2 separate regions of the Homo sapiens genome follow, and region 2 is linked to region 1. Evidence: promoter capture Hi-C in 16 types of primary human blood cells and fetal thymus (Javierre and others, 2016). All regions are on one chromosome and are shown on one strand. Each heading gives the region's core, a stretch centred on a gene start or on the middle of the fragment in contact. The rest is flanking DNA. Distances are from core to core; before and after follow the strand shown. Region 1 holds the start of LRRFIP1 (LRR binding FLII interacting protein 1). Region 2 overlaps LRRFIP1 (LRR binding FLII interacting protein 1).

Region 1 (2,720 bases), core at 124-2,623:
CAGTGGGCTTCCAGGAATGAATAAGGGTTTGCCTGGAAAGCCCTTTTCTGTATCATACAGAGAAAAACAGAAGTCTTTATTCACTCAGTAGTCAACAAATACTGAGTGACTGCCACATGTCCGTAAGAGCAAAATCAGGTATTTACAACTACAAACACCTAAGGATTGGTTACAGAGTAGATCCCCCAGAATATCTGACGGATACAGCCAGACACCACAGTCCAAATGGCTTGGAGGTGTTTCCTGTGGGAAGAATCACATGTGGAAAAGCCAACACGGAAAAGAACCTGTAAGGCGGGTTACAAGGCAGAGACTTTCTTTGCATTCATACACCCACCTGGCACACAGTTCAAATGGTACAAAGGGAACACAGTCAAAAATTAAGCTTCCTTTGTCCCCCTGGGGCCGCAACCTATTGGCTCCCCTTTTCCCAAGCTGCTGCTCTCTGTCCCTGTACGGCTTTCTGGATGTCATGTACATTCTTTAGCCTTAAGGTAGAATCCTTGCGGAAGGAAAAAAAAAAAGGCATTTGTACAAATACCCATTCTAGTGCGCCTTCAATTTGTCACAGGTAAAGTTCATCACCAAACATGATCTTAGTTACAATAAACTCTGTCCAGGAAACTTTAATGAAGACGTTTCAGTGTGCCTGGACCCGTTTCCAGGCTCAGTCCTGAAAGAAAAATCACAGTGATCCCCAAGTTCATCTCTGAGCTGCACCTTGAGTGACATCGATGGATGGATGACAAATGGTCACCTGAGCGACTCGGCCATTTCAGCAGGGCCATGTGGCCTCCGGCGACCGTCCACTGCCTCCAGGTCGGGCCTAAGCCCCCGCCTCCTCCCATGCCGCACAACAAAGCGGGGCGCTCGCCCCCACCCGGCCAGCCCGGGCCACCTCGCGCGCTGGCGGCGCCCGGCTCCTCTCCCGAGGGCGCAGCGGCCGACGGTGGCCGGGGTGGGGGAGGGCGCGCAGCGTCGCGGGCTGGGCCCGGGGCTGGAGAACGGGTGCGGGGTCCGCAGGCCTCGGAGATCGGGGCCGGGGCGCAGCGCCTGGGGATCAGCGCCCCGGCGCGCGCCTGCCCGGCCCACCCGCCTGGAGCCGGACGCGCAGTGGCACAGACGCACAGCGGGACAGACGGACGCCGGAGAGACCCTGACAGCCGTCCGGCCCCCGCGCCCGCCCGGCGCCCCCCGGCTGCCCTCCCGGAGCGCTCACCTCCCGCGCGATCTGGTTGAGCGCGTCGTCCTCCGCCGTGAGCCGCTCCCGGTTGGGGAGCCGCTTGCGCCCCGATCCCTGGGTGCCCATGTCCATCGACCGCGTCGCCCGCAGCTGCCGCGGGGCCCGTTGCTCCAGCCGCTCGCGCCGCCCCGGCCCGGCCCCGGCCCCGGCCCCTCCCTCCGCCGCGGCGTCATGGCGTCAGCGGGCGCTGGGCCGGGGACGCGGGGACGCGGGGGGACGGGGGCCGCGGGGACCCGGGGGAAGCCAGAGCCGGAGGTCCGCAGCGCGGGCCAGGGACTGCAGGGGCCAGGGACGGCGGGGCGGGGGACGGGGGCGGGGGGCGGAGACGCCAGGTGTCAGGGACGATGGGGGTCCGATACCACGGGGACGCTGCGGATGCCCAGGGCCGGGCACGCGGGACCTGAGGGACCGGGAGCCCCGGAGGGTGGACTTTGCGGGGACTGTTTGGCGGGCCGGTAATCGCGGAGCGACGCGCGCCAGGGCGGTGGGCACCGGTTGAGTGGGGACCTGAGCGGAGAGCGGGGGGGTAGGAAGGCTTTCAGAGGCCTGAGTTGCCTTGAGGGGTTTGCACGGAGGGGTGAGCACAGGATTTGGTTCAGCCTGGCGCTCCCCATTCCGCGGTGAGTCGGGGTGGAAGTCCCTCGCCGGGGTGAGAGCTAGGCTCTGGGGTCAGGCCGAGAGGTGCTCGGATCCGCCCGCCACCGCCGCTCCTGTGACCTTGGCCAGCCTCCTGGGCGCCGGCTTCACAGCGGCATGGTGTGGATGTGTGCGTTTCTGTCTTTACACGCGTGTTCTCCGTGCTAGCATCCATCCTTCTCCCCGCTGTCTGCCCCCTGAGATCAAGGACTTGTCACTTCTCTGGTGGGTCCCCAGCCTCTAGGATCGGGGCAGGTGCGTCGCAGCTCTCTCCTAGTTGTTGAAAAAGTAATGAACTTACCTGTGCTCTCTGAAGCTCACAGTCTATGCTCCAGAGGTGGATTTAAAAGTAAAGCAAATCGGAGGATTAGGTAGGGGTTAAAAGCCCCTGCCTAGGGCACGGCAGGAGCACCGGGTGGGAAAGTTACTGGTGTGTTTGGGGTATGGGGAGAACTTCAGTGTGGCTGGACCTGGGGAAGGATGGGAGGGAGGGTAGTGATGGTAGAGGAGAGGAGGCTGTACTGAAGTCACCTGTGATTTTTTTCCCCCAGTGATAAGGACAGTTAACATTTCGGTGTATTTCCCACCAAGTGGTGTGACCAGATTGCTTTGGATTCTTAAGGAGGTGGCCTGGAAGCTGTATGAAGGTGGGAAGAGGAAGAGGGCCCTTCCACCCACAGTGGCAGGGAAAGCTGTTGGAGGTTTCATTGCAGGGAAAAGACAGCGAGTCCAGTGACATGGGAGGGAGGGCAGATCCAGGTGACATTGCTCTGGGTGCCTGAGCTGACGCAGGTGGGTTGGCAGGGCTGACTGTGGCATTGTTCATGACTGAACTCCGGGA
Region 2 (2,720 bases), core at 129-2,628, 100 kb before region 1:
GAGCCAACACTAGGAGCCCAGGAACGCTAGTTTATCTAAAGACGCGAGGCACAAACAGTACAGCAGAGATTCTTAACAACTGGAGATTCTAAGCTGTATTTTCACCTTCAGTGTTTGTGTCTTGGTGATGCCAGGGGTGTATCTAGTACTGCTTTTCACAATCTCATATCCCTAGCACGATTCGTAATTACTGAGTTTCACACTGCGTTGTCAGTAAACTCCTTGTCTTATCTCCTTGGGTAACTAAAATTCCATTTATTGCAAAATTTTCAATCTTTCTTCAGCCCAGCCCGCCTGCGGGCTATAGCTCAGCCCTGGGGTGCCAGAAAGGTGGGTGGAGTGTGACAGCCTGCTGCCACCCGTCCACTGGAGAGCCCTTATCCACAGAGTGCAAATGCCCTGAAGGCCATCTTTACGTGTCTTGAGTATACATTTTTAAAATGTCGCATCCAGCCGGGTGCCATGGCTCATGCCTGTAATCCCAGCATTTTGGGAGGCCGAGGTGCGCAGATCACCTGAGGTCAGGAGTTCGAGACCAGCCTGGCCAGCAGGGTGAAACTCCATCTCTACTAAAAAATACAAAAAAAATTAGCCAGGTGTGGTAGTGGATGCCTGTAATCCAAGCTACTTGGGAGGCTGAGGCAGGAGAATCGCTCGAACCCAGGAGGCAGAGGTTGCAGTGAGCTGAGATAGCACCACTGCACTCCAGCCTGGGTGAGGGCACGAGACTTTGTCTCAAAAAATAAATAATTAAAGTGCATGCAATGCTAAATAGGTAAATAGGAATGAGCAAGTAAAAACAACTTGATCAGCTGGTTTCAGAAAGCTAAAGACGGCTTTGGTCGGGGAGAGGGAAGAAGGTCTGGGTGGGGTCACTCATTTGAAGCCCAAAAGTATAATTTAAGCATACACATGATATCTTAATATAACATAATTAAGATAAATGAAAAGAAATACTATTTTACACAATTAGGAATATTACTAAAAGAAAAAAATGAAGCATGAGAACAGGAAATTTTTAGACCATTTCACACAGAATGGACCTGTGGGATATCGTGAAGCTTAATGGAAATGTATCCAGTGTAACCTTCTAAAATCCCCAATGACCTCCTGTCCTTGATTAATCCAAAGCCCTCCCCACCCCCGCCCGGTCTCCCTAATGCCCCTGCCACTGGCACCACTCCCTCTCTCTCCCCCTAGAGCAGCACCCTTTCCTTCCACCAGCTCCTTCCTGCCTCCCACCCCTTAACTGGGAGCCTTCCAAGCATCTGCATTGTTTTATTCTCCTTTTCCTCTCCAGAAAAACACAGGTGCTTGTACACATGCCTTTAAGGTAAACATTAAAATTACAAATGACAGATGTGGAGACTGCGAAAATGTTGGATTTAGTATCTTTGAAAGCTGAATATACTTAATACACACATTATATACATACACCCAGGGGAATACAGTAATGAAAGAGTTAATCTTTAATTTCAGATCTTTTAAAACTTGAGATTCTTATCAATATCTACCCCTTATACTAACAATCAGAATGTTGGAGGGCTAACATTCTCAGAATGTTTGCTAGTTGAAAAACATTATCTTTCATTCCATCATGTGCTAGGAAAAAAAAGACAGACCGATTTTAAAATTTAAAAACAGCAAAGAAGCTAAATTTAAATTTAGCAATTAGTTTTTAGTTCTAGAAGCTTTGAAACAACCTATTTGAATTTTGAGCCATGCAAATTTACTATACTAACCCTGCCAGATCTTCTATTCAGGGACTGTGATCCATACAATTCTCCATCATAACCATTTGTCTGTTTCAATGAAGAAAAGAGAAAAACTGACATCAGTACACAAATGAATTCACAGGTACAAATCAGCAGGGACCAACCAGCCAGGTATAAGGTGACCTTTCTTGTGGAGCGGATGAATGACCAGTCCAGGACAGTACAAGTCCTGGCAGCTCCCAAACTGCATCCCTGCCGCCGTCTGCTCCCCCGCAGCTCAGGAGGGAACAGCAGTCAAGCTAACCAAGTCAGTAGGCTTCATGTCACATGCCACTCTTAGTTTTAAAGTGGCACCAAGTCCCTCCACGGGGTGGAACATTTGGGCTTGGTGTGGCCATTTCCTTGTCAGGCTGTTTCTGGTTTTATGGTGGCTCTGTGGACATTCTGCTTGCAAGAAGCCACATGCCAGGCCGATGGGTAGTGATTCAGCCTGAGTCAATGAGTTTTCAGTTCCTGGTTCAGGGTCTTTGAAAATTATGGCACATTGTGATGCTATGGGCCATAATTCAGAAGATTCAGAGATCATTTCTTTTTTTTTTTTTTTTTTGAGACAGAGTCTCGCTCTGTCGCCCAGGCTAGAATGCAGTAGTGTGAGCTCAGCTCACTGCAACCTCTGCCTCCCTGGTTCAAGTGATTCTCCTGCCTCAGCCTCCTGAGTAGCTGGGATTACAGGCGTGCGTCACCACGCCCGGCTAATTTTTGCATTTTTAGTAGAGACGGGGTTTCATCATGTTGGTCAGGCTGGTCTCGAACTCCTGACCTCGTGATCCGCCCGCCTTGGCCTCCCAAAGTGCTGGGATTACAGGCGTGAGCCATCGCGCCCGGCCTCAGAAATTATTTCTAGTCAATCTATAGTTAAACGCAAAAGTTCATCGTGGGGTATATCCTCTATACTAGTTTTTTATTCATCCAGCCCTCCTACTTTATTTTTCAAAATGAAATTTG

Evidence for each region. The method cuts DNA at HindIII sites, captures the fragments that hold promoters and counts their contacts. A CHiCAGO score of 5 or more calls a contact.
Region 2: a fragment that was not itself captured here is called in contact with the fragment with the promoter of LRRFIP1 in region 1 in 3 of 17 cell types (total B cells, naive B cells and monocytes); the score reaches 9.1 in total B cells.

What each region holds. Positions count from the first base shown.
Region 1 is chr2:237,626,240-237,628,959 of GRCh38, reverse strand. LRRFIP1 (LRR binding FLII interacting protein 1) reads right to left here and starts at 1,373. Exons shown (of 24, transcript NM_001137550.2): 1 at 1,220-1,373. The coding sequence starts at 1,315. The HindIII fragment of the contact is 5,154 bases long and covers 388-2,720 here.
Region 2 is chr2:237,726,958-237,729,677 of GRCh38, reverse strand. LRRFIP1 (LRR binding FLII interacting protein 1) reads right to left here. Exons shown (of 24, transcript NM_001137550.2): 8 at 1,743-1,802. Among named protein-coding and RNA genes, the nearest start is that of RBM44, 70 kb to the left of the region's middle. The HindIII fragment of the contact is 630 bases long and covers 1,064-1,693 here.